7 separate regions of the Homo sapiens genome follow, and all the other regions are linked to region 2. Evidence: promoter capture Hi-C in 16 types of primary human blood cells and fetal thymus (Javierre and others, 2016). All regions are on one chromosome and are shown on one strand. The core of a region is centred on a gene start or on the middle of the fragment in contact, and the rest is flanking DNA. Distances in the headings are between cores, read along the strand shown. Region 1 holds the start of C1orf35 (chromosome 1 open reading frame 35). Region 2 holds the start of ABCB10 (ATP binding cassette subfamily B member 10). Region 3 holds the start of GUK1 (guanylate kinase 1). Region 4 holds the start of ARF1 (ARF GTPase 1). Region 5 holds the start of GNPAT (glyceronephosphate O-acyltransferase). Region 6 holds the start of EXOC8 (exocyst complex component 8). Region 7 holds the start of TRIM17 (tripartite motif containing 17).

Region 1 (3,150 bases), core at 523-3,022, 1.5 Mb before region 2:
TGAAGCCACCACCCACAAGTGCGTCTTTAAATCAGTTAAATCAAACTACAAATTCCACTCCTCAGTTACGTAGTCACGTGGCCAGTGGCTACGTGGGTTAGAAACAGATGCAATATCCCCATCTCCACAGCACGCCCCTGCCCCACCCCAGCCGTGCCCTTGGCAGGTTGACACCTTCCTACCTGCACCCACCAGGCCACTCTTAGGGTCAGGCCCAGGCTCACCATCCAGGAGAAGCCCTGGAGGTGCCACCCACGGCAGGAAAAGGCCCCGCCCCAGGTCCTGAGTGCCCTCCCACGGCACAGCGCCCGACCACTGCCAGTACTTAGGACCTCTCTTCAAGGGTGACCCGAGAAACTCCCCTAGAGAAAAACCTAGGAGTAACTGGGACAGGAAGTAAAGTAGGGCAGGCCACCCGCCGGGCCGGTGCGCCAAGAGAAGCTGCCACCTGCCCGAGTGGGAGCCGCTCCGGTCCTCCCGAGACCCCCCACCCCGGGGCACAGCTAGCCCAGGTGGCACAGCCTCACCTGCTTTCCGTCTGATCCTCCGCCCGCGGCTTCCTCCTGGCCGAGGCTGCCGAGGTCCCGGGCCCGCCGCTCTCTACGCGGTGATGCTGCGGGAGAAGCGAGCTCTGCGGAGGAGTCTGCGGGCCGGCCCCACACCACGCCCCGCAGCGCCCCGGGGAGCTCCGTTCAGTGCCCCCGCCCCGCCCCACCCCTGTTAGCCCCTGCTGCGGTCAGGCGGGGCGGGGGATTACCGTGAACACAGACAGCCCCAGTTTGGCGGCCTCCTTGTCCTCTCGGGACATCGCCACGCGGCCCACGGAGCCACTGCAGGGACATGGCGATGAAGACAGTACGGCAGGGGTCCGCCTCACCCGAGCAATCGAGCCCAGTGCTGCCCTCCCCTGGAAACCCGCCCGCACCTTGCGCTCCCCAGCCCCAGCAGCCGGTCCACGCCCTTCTCCTCGGGGTCGCCTCCTTCCCGCTTGCAGACCTCCGCGAAGTCCTGCAGGTGCGAGAGCACAGGGAGCGCTCGAGTCGGCCCCACACCCACGGCCCTCCACGCGCCCCCCACCCCGGGGAGTTACCTCCTTGCTCAGGCCCGTGGGCTGCTTCTTCACGTTCTTGTAGCCACTGCGAGAGGGCCGGGGCAGGCGTCAGGACGGACGGACCTCCTCCCACCACAGGTCCTCACCACTCCAGCCTTCGTCCTCAGGGTCCCGCCCGCGCGAGTCCCCGCAGCCCCGCTCCCGCCCAGCCCGACCCCCAGTCCCCGGCCCCGGCCCCACCCTGCCCCGGCAGCGCCGTCCCAGGCACCGACCGCTGCCGTCCGCGGACACTCACAGGGCGGCCAGCAGCGCCTCGCGCTCCGCCTCCCGCACGGCTGCCAGTTCCTCCTCGCGGCTCGGGCCCGCGCATGGCGCCCGGCCCTTGGCGTACCAGGTGAGGTCGCGGCCCTTCTGCCAGCGGCCTACCGGCGCCATCAGCGAGTTGCCTGCGGACGTAGACGCTGTGAGTCCAGCGCCCGCCCGGGATCCCGGAGCCCGGAGCCCGGAGCCCGCCCACCGCGCGCACCCACCCAGGTAGTTCTCCCGCTGCTTGTCAGTCTTCACGTCCTCCCAGTTGAACTGGTCCTGCCCGCCGCGCACGCCTCCACGACTGGAGCCGAACATGGCGCCGGGAAGGCAGTTGCCTGGGGCCTGCGGCTTGCAACCTGCAACCCGCAACCCGAGACCCGCTACCCACTACCGTCGGACCCAGGCCCGACCCCGCCTCCGCGTCGCGCGCCGTGACGTCACTCCCGCGCCCACTCGGCTTCGCCGCGCGCCTCTGCGCAGCGCACTGCCCCGGATCTGTGCTCCCGCGCATCACCTCCACGTCGGCTTTGGGCGCCTGCGCACTGCGCCTACCCTGCCGGGCGCGGGAACGCCTCTGAACTGGAAGTTTAAAAATGGTTAAAACGGGGCCGGGCGGAGTGGCTCTCGCCTGTAATCCCAGCAAGTTGGGAGGCCGAGGCGGGCGGATCGCTTGAGGTCGGGAGTTCGAGACTAGCCTGTCCAACATGGTGAAACCCGGTCTCTACTCAAATACAAAAATTAGCCGGGTGTGGTGGTGCACACCTGTAATTCCAGCTACTCAGGAGGCTGAAGCAGGAGAATCACTTGAGCCGGGAGGCAGAGGTTGCAGTGAGCCGAGATCGCGCCACTGCACTCCCGCCTGGGCGACAGAGCGAGACTGTCTCAAAAATAAGAAGTTAAAATGGGCCAGGCGCGCGCGCGCCCCTGTAGCCCCAACGCTTTGAGGCTGAGGCGGGAGGATCTCGAACCCAGGACTTCGCGCCACTGCACTCCAACCTGAACGAGTGAGCGGACCCTGTCTCATAAAAAAAGAAAAAAGAAAACACACAAGATGCGCCTAGTTAACACCGCCAATTGGTCACTGCTAGTCGCGATTCCATATCGGGAGCTTAACAAGGTAATGACCTTAATGATTTGTGGAATTTCTGAGTATTACCCAGTAAACTTCTGGATGAACCAGCAGCTACCCAGACACCCTCAGAGCACTGGTCCTATCCCTGCCGTGTTAAACTGAATGTGCACCCTAACTCCCATGTGAAATCCTCACCCCAAGGCGTTGGTGCTTCGGAGGTGACTAGGTCATGAGGACAGAGCCTTCATAAAAGGGACCCCAAGAGCTTTGTGCAGCTTTCTACTGTGTGAAGGCAGCGGGAAGGAAGTCTGCAGTCTGGAAGAAACCCCTTACCAGAACCTCAGCGTGCTGGGCACCCTGATTTTGGAGGTTGTGACGTACCCCTGCTTCCCCTTTCCACTTTCATTCCCAGTGCTGACTGAGAAACAGAGTCCCTTGGCCACTCTGTGACTTCGCCAACTGTATAATTTCCTCTGCAGACTTGAACCCGAGCCATAGCCATGAACGTTCCCAGGCACAGATGACAGTAACTAGGTTGTTGCTCAAAACACAGAAAGAAACTGGACTCAGCCTGAGCCAGATTCCTCAAACCCTCATATAAATTCCATTCACCAACCCCCTCCCCCACGGACATACCTAGAGAGAACTTCATTTCTCTCACTGCCTATTGCAAGAACTGCTGCAGCCCACTCTGTACAAAAGCCCCACGAATAAATGC
Region 2 (3,280 bases), core at 234-2,733:
AACCTCACAGGCCCCACAGGCCCCCTTCCACAGCCCACAGGTGCAGGTTTACCTCTATACATACGAATATTTCATAGATGCTTCTCCCCACTAACCTAGAAGCCCCAGCAGAAGTGAGGACCATGTTTCCTTGTGCATGCCACTGTAAACCCAGGGCCCAGTCCAGAATGAGGGCTCAACAGATGTTTATAGAAGGAGTGAAGATTTAGAGAAATCGAAAAAATTTTAGATCTTACAAGGCCCTTGCATCTAAACACTCCTCCAATTATGGCTAAAAAATGAGGAGCTATAGAAAACTGTCCTATTTAAATTTTGTTTCTAAAAACATTCATTTTGGCTTCTTTTAAAAAAGTTACTCAATTACTGAACAGATCACTGGTGTGGCCTGTTGAACACAGTGCTGTAACTTCCTGCACAAGAGACAAGTCTGAAAGTTTTGCTTTCCGCTGTGAAAGCATTGGTGACTGCTTGACAGACTCGCTTGAAGCAAATAATGTGTTTTTGGTTAAAAAAAAAAAGTATAAACGCCTAATAACAAAATAGGCATATTTTTGGCTAGAATTTTTTTTTCCAAGGAAAAACCTCCAGCTCATTTTGCTGCCTAAGCCAAAACAGATGCTCCCACTAAGTTGGTGGTGGAACAGACCCAAAGATTCCAATAATGACATATATAACGTGTGTCAACAAGAAAACAAGTGTAAAATCTGCAAACGAGTCCCCAGCTAAGGCGAAATCTTGACAACGCTACTCTGAGGTGAGCGATCCCCTCCCTCCTCCGGGGTTAGGAGTGGCCCAGGAGAGGCGGCGGTGACACGCGCTCTGCGGCCCGGCCGTGTCCCTCTCGGCGCCCCGGGACCCCGCGTGTGGAGAAGGAGAGGCCCGGCGGAGGGAAGTGGCCGGGGAGGACCCTACCTGCCAGCCTCCGGCGCTCAGGGTACGCCAGCCCCAGGAGCTTCCGGGCCTCCGGGAGTCCGGCCGCTGCGGGGCGCAGCCGCCCCTTGTCCCCGGGAGGCGCCGCCGGCCCGCGCCGCCAGGCCTCGTCCCCTGCCCAGGCAGCGGCTGCGGGACCGCCCGGGAACCGGGCGCGCGGGAGCCGAGGAGCGCCTGGCCCGGCAAAAGCCCCGCACCTGCAGCTGCCGGGGCCGCGAGCCCACAGCCCCAGGAGCCGCGCGAGGCCCAGGACGCCCCGCGAGGCGCCCGGACCCCCGCCCCGGCAGCCGCTCCTCCAGCGGCGCGCGGCTCCAACGCCCCAGAGCAGCGCGGGCCCCGCGCCCCATAGCCGCGCCGGCCTCAGGCCAGTGAACGGCGATAGGGACCCGGGAACGCGGCTGGCCGCGGCCCACACGCAGGCTACCGGCAGGAGCCGACCTGGCTCGGCAGGGCTCGGTGGCTCGAGCAGCCGCAGCGGCCAGGCAGGGGGGCCTCGCATGGCGCTGCGTGCGACCCGTACGCCTCAGCCCGCCGGCCAGGCGCGCGCAAAGCCCGAGGACCCTCCCGGCCCGGCCCCGAGCAAAGGGCGTGGACGCGGTGGCGCCCGCCCCTCCCCGCTGGCTGTCACCCGCCTTATCGTGCCTGCACCCTCGGGCTGCGCCCGCCCCCGCCCCATCCTCGTCCGCGCGGTGCCGCGCCTCTCCGCCCCACTCCGGGGACTGCAGCTACCCGGACCTTGCAAGCCACCCTTCCGAGCGCCCCCAACCCGCTCGGGTGCCCTCCCTGCAGCGCCCCCAACTGCCCGCTGGCGGAGGAGCGCCGGGCGCGCCAGCTGGGACGAGGCCCGGGAAGCCCAGGAGCACGGCTGCGCCTGCGTACTGGGCGCAGGGAACTTTTTCGCGCTTCGCCGTCCCCTCTGGTCTGAACTTGGGAACGACACGAGCTCTTTCTCACGCCGGCAGACCGGGCGGAGCGCGCAGACGCGACCACACGATGGCCGGCACAAAGATGGGGCGGGAGGACAGCGTGCTGGATACGGCGTGGGGCGGGTCCGCGGCCCGGGAGACCCATGCTGGGGCGGCCCTGTCACTCGTCTCGCTGCCAAGCACAGGGCTGAGGTGCGGAGGGACCACTGAGAGGACTTCGCTGCGTGTCAGCTCAGCTCTGGACGGCGTGGAGGAGGTGGTTGGCGAATAGTGAAATGTATATAACTTTGAGAAGGGAAGAGATCGTTTCTTTTTTTTCTTTTTTTTTTTTTTCTTGAGACGATCTCGGCTCACTGCAACCTCTGCCTCCCAGGTTCAAGTGATTCTCCCTTCTCAGCCTCCCAAGTAGCTGGGATTACAGGCATACGCCACCACACCCGGCTGATTTTGTATTTTTAGTAGAGACGGGGTTTTACCATGTTGGTCAGGCTCTTTTCGAACTCCTGACCTCAGGTGATCCGCCCGCGTCAGCCTCCCAAAGTGCTGGGATTGCAGGCGTGAGCCACCGTGCCCGGCCTGAGATCGTTTCTTAACTAGAGCAGAAATTTGAAGACAGGCGTGGTCGAGGCATTCCCGCTGTTCGAAGTGGAAAACACTAATCAGAAGGCAATGCATCTTAATACACGTGCATGGAAAGACAGGAGAGAACATTAAAACTCACTGGGACACTTTATGGAGACTTCATGGGGGCGGGGGGGGATATGTACCTGAGGTCCAGTGAGTCGTGGGTAGATTTTTGTAGACTCCTAGGTATTTTTACTGGACCTGGACAGGGTACTGTCAGTTGCAAATTTTATGGGTTCACAAAATAAAAAAACCTCAATAATCAACATAAACATTTTAGTGCAATATTTTTAAAAATCAAAATTAATTTAAAAAATCCGTAATGAACAAAATATAAAAAATTTTGATTGAGTATCCACTCCTGACCTTTCACAATCCTGCCTCTCTTCTCTCGCTCTAATCCCAGCCCTGGAAACTTTATTTACAAAAACTGACAGCAGCTGCCCTTAGTTTGGCAGCTGGAAAATGGGAAAGAGAAAGTAAGAGGAAGGTGAGATTTGGGTTAAAGTTGTCACTTTCTCTTCAACTGGGAGGGTATCAATCCTTGATGTTTCTTTAGTTGGGCTCAAAAAGGAGGTAGCGGCCGGGCGCGGTGGCTCACACCTGTAATCCCAACATTTTGGGAGGCTGAGGCGGGCGAATCACGAGGTCAGGAGTTCGAGACCAGCCTGACCGACGTGGTGAAACCCCGTCCCTACTAAAAATACAAAAATTAGCCAGGTGTGGTGGAGCGTGCCTGTAATCCCAGCTACGCAGGAGGCTGAGGCAGGAGAATTGCTTGAACCCGGGAGGCGGAGGTT
Region 3 (3,220 bases), core at 145-2,644, 1.4 Mb before region 2:
TTCTGTCGTCTAGGCTGGAGTGCCGTGGCTTGATCTCGGCTCACTGCAACCTCCACCTCCCAGGTTCAAGTGATCCTCCTGCCTCAGCCACCCCAGTAGCTGGAATTACAGGGGCCCACGACCACACCCAGCTGATTTTGTATTTTTAGTAGAGACAGAGTTTCACCATTTTGGCCAGGCTAGTCCCAAACTCCTGGCCTCAGGTGATCTGCCTGCCTCGGACTCCCAAAGTGCTGGCATTACAGGTGTGAGCCACTGCACCCAGCCTTCAATAAATCTTTTTTAAAAATTTAAAATAATTTTTAGAAATAGAGTCCCGTGGCCAGGTGCAGTGGCTCACGCCTGTAATCCCAGCACTTTGGGAGGCCAAGGTTGGTGGATTACCTGAGGTTAGGAGTTCAAGACCAGCCTGGCCAACATGGTGAAACCCTGTCTCTACTAAAAATACAAAAATTAGCTGGGCGTGGTGGCGGGCGCCTGTAATCCCAGCTACTCGGGAGGCTGAGGCAGGAGAATCGCTTGAACCTAGGAGGCCCAGGTTGCAGTGAGCAGAGATGGCGTCACTGAACTCCAGCCTGGGTGACAAGAGCGAAACTCCGTCTCAAAAAATAAAAAAAGAAAGAAATAGGGTCTCGCTCTGTCACACAGACTGGAGTGCAGTGACACGAACACCGCTCACTGCAGCCTCGACTGCCCAGGCTCAAGCGACCGTCCCACGTCAGCCTCCCGAGTAGCAAGGACTACAGGCACAAAAAAGTTTTTAAATTTTTTGGTACAGAAGGGGTTTCCCTATGATCCCCAGGCTGGTCTCCAATTCCTGGCCTCAAGCGGTCCTCCCGGCTCGGACTCCCAAAGAGCTGGGATCACAGACGTGAACCACGCGCCCGGCCACATTCCCCAATTAATGGTTTTTGGAGAGTGGCCGGTTTGGAACGGGCTAGCGGAGTCGTTCGTTAGTTAGGTCCCTGCAGTGTAGATGGAGGACGGAAACGGCGCTGTGACATAAGCGGGAGGAGGCGGGCTGAGGCAGCGCTGTGACGTAGCAGATGAAAGCCGGGCCCGCGCTGCACTGAGGTACTTCTCTGAGTGACAAGCGGGACAAGTACGCCGTGGGCGGGGCCGGCGGGTCGTGATGTTAGTTCGCGCTGTGTGGAGGCGGGCCGGCGTGGCGCTGTGACGCAGCGGGAGAAGACGGGCTGGGAGGGCGCTGTGCTGAACGCCCCTGCGGTCGCGACAGGCCAGCGCAGGTGGAGGCGGGGCTAGCGAGGCACTGAGGTAAGTACTTCCCTAAGGGGCGGGGAAGAACGAGTGAGACATGGGCGGGGCAGTCGCCTCATGACGTCAGTCTCGCGCGCGGGCGGAGGTGGGCCGGTGCGGCGCTGTCACGTAGGTTCAGTGGGCGGAAGAGGTGGCCCCGGATGCTGCGGCGCCCGCTGGCCGGGCTGGCTGCGGCCGCCCTGGGCCGGGCCCCACCGGACGGTGAGTACGACAAGCGCGATCGCGAGGGTGACTCGGGTCGAGGCGGCAGCGGTCCCTGCGCTTTGCGGTCGCCCAGTCCACGCCGCCTCCGGATCTCCTCCTAGCCGAGACGCCCTGTGCCGCATTCAACTGTGGGCCCTGAGAACGGGGGAGCTCTGGAGGGCGGACGGGCTGGCAACGCAGCGGAGCCCGGGTCCCGGAGGGCGGGGCGCTCCTCAGGAGCTGGGCAGGCCGGCAGTTATCGCAGTGTCGAGCTGCTCCCCGGGCGTATAGGAGCGCTCGGTGTCTTCCCGACACCTGGGCGCGCCGCCAAAGAGAGCAGCTGGGAGTCCCTACCGCTGGCCCGGCGCGGTGTGCGCTCCGGTTCCCACCTCACCCTGCAAGCCTTGGGGTCCTGGGCGGATGGAGCCGGCTATTCCGGGGCTCCCAGGATTCTGCCTACTCCGCGGCACGGCGCAGAGACGGGGACTTGGGGAAACAGCAGGCCTTCCCGACGCATGGGTGTGGCATTTGGGGTTCGGATTCTCCAAAGCCAGAGTCCGGGTTGGGGTTCTTGAAGCTGCCCTGCTGCCATTCTTGAGCGTCGCCTTAGAAGTATGCCCCAGTAAGGACTGGTGTGGGAAGCAGGTGCCTCAAAGTTGATTTTGACCCTGCGTGTGGTGGGCCTCGGTTTCGTCTTTGCATGAAAGAGGTCGGTCCTGAGGCCCCGGGCTGGGTCCTGCTCTGCTGTCTTTGGGCTCATGGCCCCTTCCTGTCTCAGGCTTGCTCTGCTCTTTACCTGGGGTTGCTGTCGAGGACCCTGTGCAAGACTCGGCCGGTTTTTCTTTCTCCCTGATGGACAGACCCAAACATAGCCGCGCAGCATCGTGAAGGGCTGGGGCCTTCACTCCTCTGTGGCTCTGGAAGAGCCCGATTTCCTCAGGAGGTAAAGGAATGTTCCTGTCCCCCCCGGGGAAAGAAAGTGAAAATGAAAGCGCCCTGGCTGCTCCTGGTGTGGTCCCATTTAAAACGAGGTTGCTGAAGGCCAGGATGCGTGCTACCCGGATGTGTGCCCAGAAACCCTGCAGCCAAGAGCAGCCGCCTGGACCACCAGCCTCCCCTTCATCCACCTGGCCCAGCCCAGAGCCCAGGCCCACGTCTGGTGGTTTGTGTCTTACGAGAGGCCAGGCGGGGGCTGAATTCTCTCGGTTCTCAGAAGGTCAAGCCCTCTGTTAGCATCTCCTCGAACAGTGGGCCGGGGGCAAGGTGGTGACTCTGTTCAGTCCTTAGGATGGCTGGAAGCCAGAAGGAGGAGATTATGCCGCCACAGCAGGGAGTGCCTTTCCAGGAAAGCGGCTGCTGGGGCAGCATGGGAGCCCAGTCCAGGGAGCGTTCTGGCAGAGACCATTCCGGAACATGGATCTGCGCCGGCGGCTCCCAGGAGACCTTCCATCTCGGAGCTCCTGTGGAGACCACGTGCCTGGCAGGTCCTTACAGTTGTGGGTTGTGTGGCTTCTTGCCAGGCAGCTGATTGGAGTTTGCGACTGTGGGTTGGTGAGAGTGGAGAGCACAGAATGTTTGCTGGAATGCTTCCCTCTGCCCACAGGAAGACACCTTTGGCGCATGTGTTCTGGTCAGGGCAAAGGCTCCGTGGTTTCCACCGCAAGATTGCAGGAGCCTTGAGGCCTGGGCCACAGTTTTCTCCCTTGGGTGTGCTCCATGGAAGGTGGCTTTGGTGACCGCCCTGCCACTGGTCTCTCCC
Region 4 (3,388 bases), core at 245-2,744, 1.5 Mb before region 2:
CCCACACAATCCCCGCTCAGTGACCCTGGAGCCACCCCTGGCCACGCTCTGCCAGCAGAGAACCAAAGCCAGGTCCCTTCAGCCCTAAAGAGGCCATAACCACATGTAACCCCCGTGAAATGTCCGCACATGGCCCCGCTCTGGCTGAGCAGGGAGAGGCAGCACAACCAGAAGGTTCCACAGGCATCCACAACCCTCCCTGGGGCTTTCCAAGAGTATCTGAGATGCCTGTAGGGTGGGAGACGTCCTTCCCCTAAACAGACAACCCTGCCACAGCTTCACAGAGGTGAGATTTCGGAAGGGAGCCCCAGGCAGAAAAAGGGACTAAATTTGGGGGCAGGAGGGTCACCGCTTTTGGGGACCTTCGTAGCCCCCGCAGGTGCAGCCCTGGGGGAGAGATCTGCCCATCGCAGCCTCCAGAGGCAGTGAGGACGCCCTGCCCAAGGGGCAAGCAACGTAGGTGATGGGGGCAGCAAAGGGGCGCAGGAGGCCTGGGCCAGGCCCAGTGATCCCACCCCTCAGGCCCTGCCCCCGGGCCTCGGCCTGCACAAATCAGGTTGATTCCCGACCTCCACAATACCCAGGGCACTGTGCTGCAGGGACACTTTCCCACAAGCCCAACCCCTCACAGCAGCACAAGGGAAGAGGCAAGAAGACCTGAGGGTGGTGGGCAGAGCCAGGCCTCCAGCACACGGAACACAGAGGGACTGCAACGGTCCTCTGTTCAGGTGCCTGAGAGCGGGATCTCCTCCGCCTCAACTGGATCTCAGCTTAAAGGCCAGCTCATTAGAGACCACTGTGACCTCCCTTCTGGGCGGCCGTCCCCAACCCTGGGCCCCACCCCCACGGCCCCCGCCTCACCCCGGGGTCCCCAGGCCACCTCCTCCTTTGCTTCATCTGCGGCCAGCTCCCCGGCGTCTGCTCCGGGCCCAGGTATGAGCCCGCGCGTCACTGCGGCCGCCGGGGCGCCGAGGCCAGTGCGGGGACACAGCAAGCCTCCCGCCTTCGGACCTTCCGCCGTGGCCCCGCGAGTGCCACAGGTTTCCACAGGGCCGGGGCACGTGGACCCGCGCAGCCTGGGAGCCAGGAACCCCAACCCCGGCGAGGGGCGCCTCGCACCCCCGTCCTCACGCAGTCCCCGAGGCCTCCCGGTGACTGCCGGGTGTGGGAGGAGGAAGGTGGCAACCAGCCCCGCAGCTCCAGTTGCTGCAGGAGCCCCCCGGGCCTCAGTCTCCAAATACGCCAAACGGGCGGGAGTGAGCCACAGGCTGTCTTCGCGGAAGACTCACAGGCGCAGGCGCAGACGGGTGCGCGCCCCTAGGGTGCGCGCGAGCTAAGACCGCGGCCCGGGGCAGGGTGTCCCCGGCCCCGCCCCCTGCAGCCCTACCGGAGCCAGCGCGCCTGCGTCGCGGGCGCACGGTGGGCGGAGTTCCCGGCGTCTCCGCCCCTTACCCGGCGTGCCCCGCGCCCGGAGGCGCTGACGTGGCCGCCGTCAGAGCCGCCATCTTGTGGGAGCAAAACCAACGCCTGGCTCGGAGCAGCAGCCTCTGAGGTGAGGGCGAGGGGCGCGGGCCGGTGTGGGCCGCAGAGACGTTGGAGCCGGCGGGGGCTGGGGACTGGCCTCGGGGCGACTTGAGGTTCGCGAAGGGCACGTCGACCCCCGCGGCGGCGGCGGCGACAGGGCCGGGCCGGGGGCGGACGCAGACGGGCCGGGCTGAGGCTGGGGCCCGGCCGGAGTCGGGGCTGGGCGGACGGGCGGGTCGGTGAGCTCCTCGCACCCCTCACAGGTTCCCGAAGTCGCTCGCGGCCGCTTGTCCTCCTCTGCCTGTCCCTGCCCCCGCCCGTCGCCCGGAAGTCCGCTTGGACGCCGGGCTCTTCTCCAGGAAACCTGGGCTTCCTGCTTCCCTCGCCTCTGCCTTTCTCGTTTCCCGAGGCCGCCCGCGCGTGGACGGTTGGGATTAGCGGCCGCGGGGGCCGGTGGGGGTCGTGGGGCCTCCCCCACCCGAGTACAGGCGAGCGAGCGGCATCCGGGCGGACCCCCGCCTCGGGGACCGGGAAACTGAGGCTCGGGCGGCCTGAGACGCCGTCAAGGTCATGTAGGTGGTGGGGGCTTGCATCTTCGCCTCCCGACTCCATCCAGTTCGTGTTTGCTGTGAAGACGGTACCGGGTCAGGGGTGGTGAGAGCGGGCGGGCAGGTGGACAGGAACCCCGTGCCCTTCCCTGTCTGCTGAACGGAATGCGTGGACCTCCGGGGGAGCCCAGAGTGCCTCCCTTCACACCAGTGAGACGCAATTTGGGGTCAGCACTCAGGGCACCGGTGGCCTCCAGAGGGCCGGTCGATCTTCGCTTTAACTCCAGGGTGGTTTCCTTGACGTTGTCGGCAGTAGATAAGAAGGCCTCTTCTGAGCTGGTGAATCTTTAACCTACCTGAATCTTTAACCTGCCTGCGGAACGACCTGCTCGCAGACTCTAGGCCGCAGAGGCCGGCCCCAGCGCTCTCTCGGAGCACAGCCTGGGTGGTTACGGCGTGTGAGATTGGGGCTGGACAGCCGTGCGCACCTAGAGTGTTAAATAACCATTCCGACGGCACCTCCTGGCACTCCCTTTCAGTCCAGGCAGCCAGTTGCTGCTTTGCAGGAATTGAGCAGAAATGCACTCGGAATCGCGGGCAGGAAAAGAAGGGAGGTCGGAGGCTTTGGATGGTCCCCGAAGTCGCCGCCTAGTTGAGAGCTGTAGAGTTGGTGCCACTGCCCCTGTTGGAGTGGGCAGTTGTAGTTCTTGTTTCAGAACTAGTGGTCAGCAGTTTTCTTTGCCGGCTGTTGCAAGGCTGGTGGTTCTGGCGTTTTCCGCAGTGTGTTGGGAGGAGTGTGAGATGCCGCGGTGCAGTTGTGTGCGGCCCCTGTGGCCCTCTGCTGTTGCGTTAGCCATTGTCTAACACGTGTGACCGCATGGATGGTGTCCTCATTTAATTTGAATTTTCACCAGCACTGCCTAGGTAGCCAGAACCATAAGGTCCTGAAATGCCGTACTATTAGCTGGGTCCAAAATTGAGAAGAATTGAGTAGTGTAAATGTTAGTCACACATCTCATTGGACACATTGTTAGAGTGTGTTGTCCATGTTTTCACATGTTGGTAGACTGGAGAATAGCTGTCACTTGTCTTCAGGCGTATCTTGTTGAAAATAAATCCAAATCACTGCAGCAGTAGGAATATGCTGTTGCCTGTGAGGCAGATTTTCGGATTTGCTAGTTGAAAAAGATTTGAAACAGTTGGTTTGGACAACAGCTGAGTCACACAATGACTGTGAGTGAAAAGCAAAAACTGGTTCTGTGCCCCTCACAGTTCTGGTTTTGTACATCATGTGGTCTAGCTATGGGCTGTACCTC
Region 5 (3,082 bases), core at 414-2,913, 1.7 Mb after region 2:
CTGGGTTACAGGAACATGGAATAGTCTTCCTATTTTCTTTCACAGTTAGGAATTAAGATGAACCTAAGACAACTGGCTCAATTTGAATGCCTTTGTTTTCTATTAATTCCTCTTTCTATATTTCACTTGTTGAAGCTCTGACCAGTCACCTGAAAGTTCTAACCAGAATCCTAGGCATCCTTACTCACATGTATTACAAATACCACAGAGCTCTCTAAATTACCAGCTGCTGATTTATGCTTGCTACTATTTGCTTAATCTTTTATACAATAAACATTTAAGAGCCAACTAAACTTTGGCATTAAGGATATAAAAATGAATAGACACATTCAATGCCTTCAGAGCTCCTACCATGATTTCCAGCCTGTGTTGACATGAACTATATTATTTTGCAGAATAGTCTTTTCCTCTAGATTTTAAACTTCTCAAGGTCAGAGACTAAGTCTTCTCTGTCCTCCAATATGTCCAAGGGCACAGAAATGCTAGTTAATACAAGCATGGGGTCTGGGGCTAGAATCAGAACCCAGGCTCTGCAAAAATTACCAGTCAGACAACCTGCATCAGGTTTCATGAACTTCTAGTACTTGTTTCTACATCTGCAATCATGGATTTATGACAGTGTCTATTTCATGAAGTTGAAAATTAAATGAGCAAATACACGAAAAGCATGTGCTATATGGCAAGTTCTCAACAGTTTTAACTATTATTCCTACTGTTTAGGTGAACTTAGAATTTTGAGCAGTCATTCCAAAATAAAAATAGCTTTTAAAATATCACGCTGTAAATTTAAGAAATGTGTGTTGTCCTGAAATCTAATGATTTTCTTTGGTGCATGTGCAAAGGGTGTCACCTTCTCCCGGGAAAGCTCTTCAGAGTATGAGGCACTGTCTTCCTACTGACATGCCATGCGACTTTAATAGGCTCTTTTATTTTCCTTTTCCCCCATCAAGACAAAGAACGGAGAGTAAAAGATCAGCGCACTTGTTTAAAAAAAAAAAAGTCGTGAAAAGGACAACTCGCCAAGGACTATGATGTCTCTGGAGAGGGACACACAAGGATGAAGCTGGTGTATTATCCAACAGGCCCGAGGCCCCAGAGCGAAATGACACCATCGCACCAGGGTCAGGCAGGTCTTGGGGGTGGCATGGGGAAAGGGGACTTCCCAGGGCTCAAGAAAACGTGGAAAAGCGGGCTACTTTTAAATCGGAAAGCCTTGGTGCTTCCTACAAGCAAGTAGGATGGTCCCCACACTTGGGGACGAGTTGGAAGGTTTGATGAATAACTCAGCAGAGCCCGGTCGAGGGGTGACTTCCGATGGAGAAATGTGTTCGCTACTGGAACCAGGTGGGACGAAGGGTGCTTGACATGCAAGAACCTTTAGCCTCAAAGCAGAGGCCAACCCAGGACGGGCAACACAGGAGACCCACGTTCCTCAAATCTGTTCTCCACGTGGGCTCCTGGGACCCCGCACTCACCAAAGTCGTAAAGGTTCTGGAGCAGAGCGTCAAGAAGTGTCGGAGAACTGGGAGGCGTGGAGGACCCCGGCCCTTGCTCCTGCGACATTGTGGGGTCAGCCGAGGAATCAACCCTCATTCTGCCGCGCTGCACCCCCGCTTCCGGGTTCCGCGACTGCGCGCATGCGCTGCAGGGCCCTGCGCGGCTTCCGTCCTGGCTGAGATGGCGGCGCCCGGGATCCTGTGTAGCGGCTGCAGAGGGTGCCGCCGCCCTAGGCGAAGTAGGGCCGTCCTGAGCGAAAGAACCGCCCCCAGCAGGAGCACCACCACGGCTTAGCAAAGAATCCCAGACCCCGCCCGGGAAGGCAGCCGCACCATGGAGTCTTCCAGTTCATCTAACTCTTATTTCTCCGTTGGCCCAACCAGTCCCAGCGCTGTCGTGCTCCTCTACTCGGTAGGCGCCCAGGGAAAAGAGGCCCAGAGCGGAGCCGCGCGAAATAGTACCCCTTTCTCCCAGTCCCTATTCCTCCGGCCCACCACCCTTGCCCAAAAGAGCTGGCCCCTAGGCTCCCGAGGAGGGGTTAGTTGGTTGGATTGGTTTCCAGGACAACAGTGTATCGCTGTGTGTCTGTGTGTGCATGCTTTTGGAAGTTTCTACGGATTATGGTTCCTTTGGTTCCTTTCCACTTTTTCCTTCTCTTTCTTTCTATCAGGCCCTGGGGCCTTCAGAAAGCTCCTGGACACGAGAATGAGGAATGAGAATTGGAGTCTCCCCATCTCTAGCGAGGGCATGTCGAGCTACCTTTTGGGCAAACCTGAGAAACTTGCGGGTTTGACCCGCCCTGAGATAGCCTGTGGCTCCGCACCCCGCCCTATGCTGCTGTTATATTCCTGGGAGTAGAGCACTTGGCTTGTATGTGGGAATAGAGTTTTAAACACTTCAGGAAAATTTAGAACTTCTAGACATTTTTATTGCCTGTTCTTGTCTTCCAGTCATTATTGTACCTTTTCCACAAATCATTTTGGAGGACAGCCAGCGCCACCCAGCTTCTCTCCCGCTTGTCTTTTTTTCCTCCAACCCCCTCTTCCTCTCTTGGTTTTAACGGGTCTTTTTGGCTGGCAGATGTTGGTCACCCACGATTTTCATGAAGAAATTATGAGATGGGAGCTTTATAGCCTTCAGGATTGCACAGACCTGGGGCAACTGGTTTGGTTTTTGTTTGTTTCTTGTTGTTTTTAACCACTAAATTAGTTTTTAGCTACTTTAGGAGAAAATGAAAGAATTCATTTTAAAAGCATATTAGCATATCCTGGTGATTACTGTCCAATTTTGGCTTAAATGTAGTGTTCATTTGTGCAGAAAGGTCAAAACAGGGATAACACAGCAGAGCAAGATAAACACCCCAGTTTTGAAAGAGAATATATGGGTTCCTTCAAATTGAGACACCAATATTCTTTGGAACATGGAGAAACTTCTGTTCCCTCTCTATCAAGACCTTTCGGTTTCTGATTGCTAACTGCCTATAAGCCTTATTATTTAGATATATCTCTTCATTGATCTTATCTTCCCCACAGTTCTGTGGTGGATATCAACTTTGTTTTCTGACTCTGCTACTCCAGAGCAGGCA
Region 6 (3,114 bases), core at 485-2,984, 1.8 Mb after region 2:
ATGATGAAGGTGAGATCCAGTCCGATATCACCCAGTTGCTGGCAATGCTCCTTAGCCACTTTTACACACTCAGCTGCTGTAGAGAGGCTCTCCTTACTATCAAACACCTGCTTGCTAAAAGCATCCACGAACATGCCCATGGCTGATCTTGCCCAGACCACAAAGGCAGAGTAGCAGCCGCTGTCAGTGCCTGCAAAATCGATCTCAAATTCTCTTGCAGTCTCGAGAAGGCTGGTAAAGAAGACATGGCACAGCTTATGAATATAGAGTAAAGTGGCACCTTCGATGCGAAGCTGACGAATTGCAGTATGAACAGCGGCTGCCCTGTTTCTCAAAAATAGCTCACAGGCCTTCGTGCACTGGCCCAGCCGGATCAGTTGCGAAACTGCTCTGCGAGTAGCCTTCGGACCACCTCTCAGGGAACGATCTGGGGAGAGTTCGAAAACTAGCACCTCAGTGAGCTGTCGAACTCGCTCCTCCACTTTGGCCCTTAGTTCTTTTACAGGAGGTGGGCTAGGTTTATCTTCCAGGTAATGGTTCAATTTATCCAGCAGGTCAACCGCCCCTTCAAAGTCTCTCTGCGCAATGCAGACATCCAGGTCTTCAGGTAACTCCTGGATCCATTCCATGGAGAGGTCCACCTTCTCTTCCTCTACCTCAGGAACAGCTGGTTCTTCTTCTTCGTCATCCTCAAATGGGTTAGTGGCCTTGGAAGTCACTTGGGGTGGCCCTCGAGGGGCCGCTGCCTCCTCCTGCTCCCTTCGCCTTTTCTCACTGAGGGCCCTCTTGGTGTCCTCCAGCACTTCCAGCCACTCTCGTTTGATTTTAGCATTTTCGGCCTGGAAAATACGGCTCTCGGGGAACATAAGCAGCTTGAACATGTCCTTCATGGGCGGGTTGTCCTTGACATTGACTACGGCCAAACCATCTAGGGAATAGAGAGCGTTGTAGCGATACATCCCACGCCGCTGAGGCAGCCAGGTAGCCACCAACAAGCAATCGTTCATGAGAAAGCCGTGCACCCGCTGCAGTTGGGCCATGTGGTCCGCATCGTATTCCACTAGGTCCCCATTGTACACCAAGTACTGTCCCGGCGTCTCCAGCAGATGCCTGCAGCCTTCCACCTTCTCAAGCAGGGTGGTGAGAGTGCGCTGCTTTCCTTCCTCGCCTGGACCGGAGCCGTCGCGGGAGGCACCCCCGGGGGTGGAGAAAAAGCCGGCCTGGCCTCGGAGGTGGTCTCGGCCCCCCGCCCCACCGACTCCCTCCTCCCCTCCAGAGGCGGCGGCGGCTCCGGCGGCAGCAGCGGCAGGCAGCAACGTAAGCGGGATGCTCTCCAGGCTGCTTTTCTGCTCGGTCAGCAAATGGCTGAGCTGGTACATCTCGCTCTCCAGGTAGGAGATCTCGCGGGCCGTCTCTATGAACTGCCGGTAGTTCTGGTAGACGTTGCGCTTCAGGTTCTGCGCCGTCTCCTCCGCCAGCGCCTGGATGCGCTGCCGGTGCTCCTGGAGGTCCCGGTCCCCATCCGACTGCTGCGAGAGCTGCTTCACGTACAGCCGCGCCTCAAAACCCCCTGACTCCAGCTGCCGACGCAGGCGGCTCGCCCCACTGTCCGACATCGCCATCGCCATTTCTCTCCGGGTCTCACGCACTCACTGTCACTATCGGCGCCGCAGCCGCCGCGGCTGTCTAGACCCACCCAAGGCCAACCGAGCTCCTGGGCTGAGGAAGCAGGAATGGGAACGAGACGAGTACGCCTGCGCCGGGTCTGAGCGTCAGACACTGCGCCTGCGCAAGTGGGCCGAGCGCAGACATTGCGCCTGCGCAGCAATGCCATCGGTTAAAGCGCATGCGCAAGATGAGCTATTGCGGAAGTGAGGGGAGGGAGAGGCCGAGAGAAATTTCGGTACTGCGCATGAACCGAGCGTGACGTTGAGGTTTGAAATAACCGGCAAAGAGTAAAGGCTGAAACTAGCTTCCTGAAAGCTTCGTAGGGCCCGAGCCCTGTGAGCCCAGGTTCTGCGCCCACTAGGAGGTGTCATGCTGACTGCTTTTTTTAAAGCCCTAGAATCTTGGCTTCGGCGTTTGGGGTAAGCTCCGTTCTCGTTCTCAAGCGCGTTTCCGCGAACTCTCGCGGGATTGACGGGCCGTCTCGAGAGCCGGCATCTCCTAGGAGCTAGTCCTGGTCCTCGGCTAGGCGGCTTGGGGTCGCGGCGTAACTGGGGAGCCAGCCTGACGCCGGCGGACCCCGCCTGTGATCCTGGCAACGATGGATGATGACTTGATGTTGGCACTGCGGCTTCAGGAGGAGTGGAACTTGCAGGAGGCGGAGCGCGATCATGCCCAGGAGTCCCTGTCGCTAGTGGACGCGTCGTGGGAGTTGGTGGACCCCACACCGGACTTGCAGGCACTGTTTGTTCAGTTTAACGACCAATTCTTCTGGGGCCAGCTGGAGGCCGTCGAGGTGAAGTGGAGCGTGCGAATGACCCTGTGAGTTCCGAGCCCCGCTGGGGAAAGAGGCGGGACTGGCAGCTTTCCTGCAGCCCCCGGCCCTGGTTTTCTCTCCTTTCTCTAGTCCGACGGTCCCAGGGGGCGTTAAATGAGGGGAGTCTGGTTTTGGACCTGGCAATTCCTGCCTCGGCGTGTTTCTGTCTTCCTTACCTTTTCTCCCACTCGAACAATAAGAAAGCTGTGTAGACCACACCGCCACGGTTGGACTCAGGGCCGTAACAAAAAAGAGATTTTTATTTGAATCTCACTTCACTTGAAAATAACAAGTTCCTGATTTGCCTTATGATAGTGCTGTAGGACCCAGAAGGGAGAAGCAACCAAATCTGCACCTAAGAAAGTGCTGAGGACGCAGAGTAACTGCCAAAGGATGTGTGTTCTCCTCCTCTATTCCCGTTAGGAAACCCACTTTAGTTAGCTCGTGTGTTGCATTGGGGATCTTCAGTGATGCTTTTAAAACGATTCTTTTTCTACACGCTAAATTTCAGAAATCCCTATTTGAAATAATAATCTACTCCTGCACGTGAACAGGGTTAAGTTTAAGATACAGTTGTATCCCAGCATGCTTGTTTTTGAGTTGATAGAAAACAACCTACTGTCAAACAAATT
Region 7 (3,039 bases), core at 319-2,818, 1.1 Mb before region 2:
TCCCTGACCAATGCTCTGCAGGCCCCTCCGCCTCTCCTCTCCACTGGGCCTGGACCCTACCCGTCCACTTCCGCCTGCTGCTGGCTACCCCCAGCTCCACATCTCATCAGCTCCTCCTCCCCGACAGACCGTTGCCGGCTAGGCCTTCAACCTGCCTTTCTGGAGAAGCCTGCTAGGTCAGCTTAGGGAGAAGCCCCTACCCTTGGAGCCTTCCCTTAATCACTTTCCATCCACTGACCCCACCCAGATCCCCACTCCAACTCCCCCATACATCCCCAGCTGTCTTTGCTGGCGCAACTCTCCCATTGCAAGTAGCCTGACTAAAGAGCCTTTCAAATGTCAGAATTTTTTCTTTAACAAAACCCCGTACACCAAAGGAAGAAGGGATGGGCTATCAGAGGAAAAAAGCTCTCTTCCATTCGGTAGTGAGGTGGGGTTCAGAAAAAACACGCGTGTGCATGTACGCACAGACGAACACCCATACACATACCCATGTATGTATACAAACGTGCATGTGCACACACGCATACCCACGCATACACACCACACAAATACAAACATGTACGCACAGAAACACTGATCCACAAACACAGCACACACAGGCACAGATGCACATATCGGTAAACATACATGCATGTACACACAGGTACACGCGCGCACACACGCACAGGCACACAAGCATGCACATAGATGCCCCCTGCAATCTCAACACTCGCGACCCCACGCAGTGGAGATCTACAGACTTTCGCCTACGCCACGGGGTTGCTATGGGGACCGAGTTGCAGAAGGAGTTGAAAATCGCGTCTACACTGCAAGCACGATTCTCCCCTTCCGTTCTGCCATCCCCTAAAGCGAGGGCGTCTAGGGGTCTCAGACTTCCCCGGCTCTGTCCCACGTCCAGTTTCTCGGAGCTTTCTGCACGCCAACCACCCGGCGCCAGCCCTCCGACTCCCCCCAAGAGCCCTAACGGAGGCACCCAGCCCACCCTGACCGAAGCCGGGCAGGGACAGCGGCAGCGGGCCTGGGGCTCTGGCTCTGGCTGCCGGGATGGCTGTCCTTCCCGCTCTGGTCCGCTAGGGTCCCGGTAGAGTTACCTTGTTGAAGCGCGCTAGCCCCTCCAGGGACGCGGCGGCCGGCGGAGGCGGGAAGGCCGGGCGTTGGAGGGCGAGGAGGACCGGGTTAGGCTTAGGTCGTGGCCCAGGCGCCACAGGAGGGTAGCCTAGGCGGCGGGGTGGGGGCTACTCACCGCGGGGAAGGGGGGCCCGCACAGCGCCTAGTGCACCTGGCCGAGCGCTCGCTGCCGGGAAAGGCTGGGTCTGCCCCCACGAAGCCCAGGAGGCTGCGGCCCGGCCCGGGGCGTGGGGACCTGGGGTCGGGAGGCCTAGGGACTTTGTGGCGTCAGCGGGGGCTGGGGGGCGGCGGGGGAGGGGAATGCTGGGCGAGGGAGTGTTCGGCGGCCGGGACTGGGGCGGCGCCTCTTAGGAGAGGTTGGGGGTGGCTTGGGGAAGGAAGGCGGCAGGGGGTGGAAGGCTCTGGACGAGCCGGGGACAGGCGCAGCGGGTGCTGACTGGGCGGTGGGGAGGATGTGGTCCACAGCCCAGCGAAGGGAGGAGTCTTGTTGGCCTGGGGTGGGACTTTTAGGGGAGGTTAAGGGAGTGTGGAGGGTGGGGAGTTGGGGGGTTACTTGGGGGTGGGGAGTGGAATGGGGACAGCTGGTGGGGCTAGGGGCGGGCAGGCGAGCGTCAGGGTGGGGGGAGTGGGATTGGAAGAGGCTTCTCAACCTGGGGTTGGGGCTGCGGGAGGGCACGCGAGCCCCAGGCTGGAGGGTTAGGTGAGGGGCTAAGTTGGTCGGGGTAGGGGATGGAGAGGAGTTTGTGTGGGCTGGGGTGGGGGCGAGGCAGCAGGAGCGAGTGCCTGTTGAGAAGCTATGAAGGGGGTCCCCAGGAGCAGCCAGTCAGCCGCCAGGTCTGCCCACATGGTTGGCAGTCAGCATCAGGCTGAGGGTACAGGGAGGGGCGTCCCAATCCTGTGGGCGGACCAGTTTGGAGGGACCACCTGGCAGGTCAGGTCCCCTAGAACCAGGCGGGACGGGGTGGGTCTTGCCGACACCCCAGGTGGTTTTGTTACCAGAAACAGGTCCTGATCCAGACCCCAAGAGAGGGTTTTGGATCTTGGGCAAGAAAGAATTCGGGGCAAATCCATAGAGTAAAGTGAAAGCAAGTTTATTAAGAAAGTAAAGGAATAAAGAGTGGCTACTCCATGGGCAGACCAGCCCCCAGGGCTACAGGTTGCCCATTTTTATGGCTATTTACTGATTATATGCTAAATAAGGGGTGGGGTATTCATGAGTTTCCCAGAAAAGGAAGGGCAATTCCAGAAACTGAGGGCTCCTCCCCTTCTTAGACCATATAGGGTAACTGTGACCTTGTCTTGGCATCTGTAAACTGTTGTGGCACTGGTGAGGGTATCTCATAGCATGCTAACGTATTAAAATTAGCATATAATGAGCAGTCATGATAACCAGAGGTTATTCTGGTCGCCATCTAGGTTTTGGTGGGATTTTGCTGGCCTCTTCACCACATACTGTTTCATCAGCAAGGTCTTTATGACGTGTATCTTGTGCCAACCTCCTATCCCATCCTGTGACTTGGAATGTCTAACCTCTGGGGAATGCAGCCCAGCAGGTCTCAGAATTATTTTACCCAGCCTCTATACAAGATGGAGTTGCTCTGGTTTAAAAGTCTCTTACGGTTTCAGCCAAAATGCCGCCCCCAGCCCTGCCCAGGTCCTGACTGGTGGCCATTTCTCCTGGCCTTGAGTCCCCACGCCTAGTCATCACGCTTCATCCTCCAGTAGAGGGATGCACCTTTCACATGGAGGGTTCATCTCCTGCTTTCAGGAACAGGAGCCAGAGGCCTGCGTGCCCTGAGTCAGAGTCCTGGGATTGGAGAGAGAGGACAGATGAAGAAACTAAGGCTTGGCCCACACAGGGGGTGCAGACAGGCAGGAAAACAGGGCCTTGAAGGCTAAGAGGCACCA

Evidence for each region. Contacts are between HindIII fragments. The CHiCAGO score rates a contact against its expected background, and 5 or more counts as called.
Region 1: a contact is called between the fragment with the promoter of C1orf35 here and the fragment with the promoter of ABCB10 in region 2, in 8 of 17 cell types (neutrophils, naive CD4 T cells, non-activated CD4 T cells and 5 more). The highest score is 12.1, in neutrophils.
Region 3: a contact is called between the fragment with the promoter of GUK1 here and the fragment with the promoter of ABCB10 in region 2, in 4 of 17 cell types (monocytes, non-activated CD4 T cells, total CD4 T cells and 1 more). The highest score is 12.8, in monocytes.
Region 4: a contact is called between the fragment with the promoter of ARF1 here and the fragment with the promoter of ABCB10 in region 2, in 1 of 17 cell types (monocytes). The highest score is 6.5, in monocytes.
Region 5: a contact is called between the fragment with the promoter of GNPAT here and the fragment with the promoter of ABCB10 in region 2, in 1 of 17 cell types (total B cells). The highest score is 5.6, in total B cells.
Region 6: the fragment with the promoter of EXOC8 here is called in contact with the fragment with the promoter of ABCB10 in region 2 in 1 of 17 cell types (naive B cells); the score reaches 5.9 in naive B cells.
Region 7: the fragment with the promoter of TRIM17 here is called in contact with the fragment with the promoter of ABCB10 in region 2 in 1 of 17 cell types (non-activated CD4 T cells); the score reaches 5.2 in non-activated CD4 T cells.

The regions. Positions count from the first base shown.
Region 1 is chr1:228,101,553-228,104,702 of GRCh38, forward strand. C1orf35 (chromosome 1 open reading frame 35) reads right to left here and starts at 1,773. Exons shown (of 8, transcript NM_024319.4): 1 at 1,582-1,773; 2 at 1,347-1,497; 3 at 1,091-1,136; 4 at 926-1,008; 5 at 758-830; 6 at 528-613. The coding sequence starts at 1,675. RefSeq lists enhancers at 1-539, 540-1,259, 1,260-1,980, 1,981-2,700 and silencers at 608-687, 938-1,107, 1,268-1,537. The HindIII fragment of the contact is 8,620 bases long and covers 1-3,150 here.
Region 2 is chr1:229,557,224-229,560,503 of GRCh38, forward strand. ABCB10 (ATP binding cassette subfamily B member 10) reads right to left here and starts at 1,484. Exons shown (of 13, transcript NM_012089.3): 1 at 913-1,484. The coding sequence starts at 1,429. RefSeq lists silencers at 694-1,143, 1,204-1,903 and an enhancer at 2,074-2,263. The HindIII fragment of the contact is 4,467 bases long and covers 1-3,280 here.
Region 3 is chr1:228,138,885-228,142,104 of GRCh38, forward strand. It overlaps GUK1 (guanylate kinase 1), which reads left to right and starts at 1,395. Exons shown (of 8, transcript NM_001159390.2): 1 at 1,395-1,479. The coding sequence starts at 1,419. RefSeq lists enhancers at 1,022-1,071, 1,182-1,411 and a silencer at 1,422-1,981. The HindIII fragment of the contact is 28,593 bases long and covers 1-3,220 here.
Region 4 is chr1:228,081,214-228,084,601 of GRCh38, forward strand. It overlaps ARF1 (ARF GTPase 1), which reads left to right and starts at 1,495. Exons shown (of 5, transcript NM_001658.4): 1 at 1,495-1,552. RefSeq lists silencers at 792-921, 932-1,751, 1,782-1,881. The HindIII fragment of the contact is 7,793 bases long and covers 1-3,388 here.
Region 5 is chr1:231,239,549-231,242,630 of GRCh38, forward strand. It overlaps GNPAT (glyceronephosphate O-acyltransferase), which reads left to right and starts at 1,664. Exons shown (of 16, transcript NM_014236.4): 1 at 1,664-1,908. The coding sequence starts at 1,831. It overlaps FSAF1 (40S small subunit processome assembly factor 1), which reads right to left and starts at 1,627. Exons shown (of 7, transcript NM_152379.4): 1 at 1,476-1,627. The coding sequence starts at 1,593. RefSeq lists enhancers at 1,357-1,696, 1,677-2,566. The HindIII fragment of the contact is 8,993 bases long and covers 1-3,082 here.
Region 6 is chr1:231,336,118-231,339,231 of GRCh38, forward strand. It overlaps EXOC8 (exocyst complex component 8), which reads right to left and starts at 1,735. Exons shown (of 1, transcript NM_175876.5): 1 at 1-1,735. The coding sequence starts at 1,628. SPRTN (SprT-like N-terminal domain) reads left to right here and starts at 2,176. Exons shown (of 5, transcript NM_032018.7): 1 at 2,176-2,487. The coding sequence starts at 2,267. RefSeq lists enhancers at 1,037-1,912, 1,460-1,509, 1,550-1,609, 1,913-2,787, 2,190-2,389 and 1 more and a silencer at 1,170-1,339. The HindIII fragment of the contact is 2,369 bases long and covers 1-1,981 here.
Region 7 is chr1:228,415,293-228,418,331 of GRCh38, forward strand. TRIM17 (tripartite motif containing 17) reads right to left here and starts at 1,569. Exons shown (of 7, transcript NM_016102.4): 1 at 1,247-1,569. RefSeq lists a silencer at 1,028-1,137. The HindIII fragment of the contact is 7,787 bases long and covers 1-3,039 here.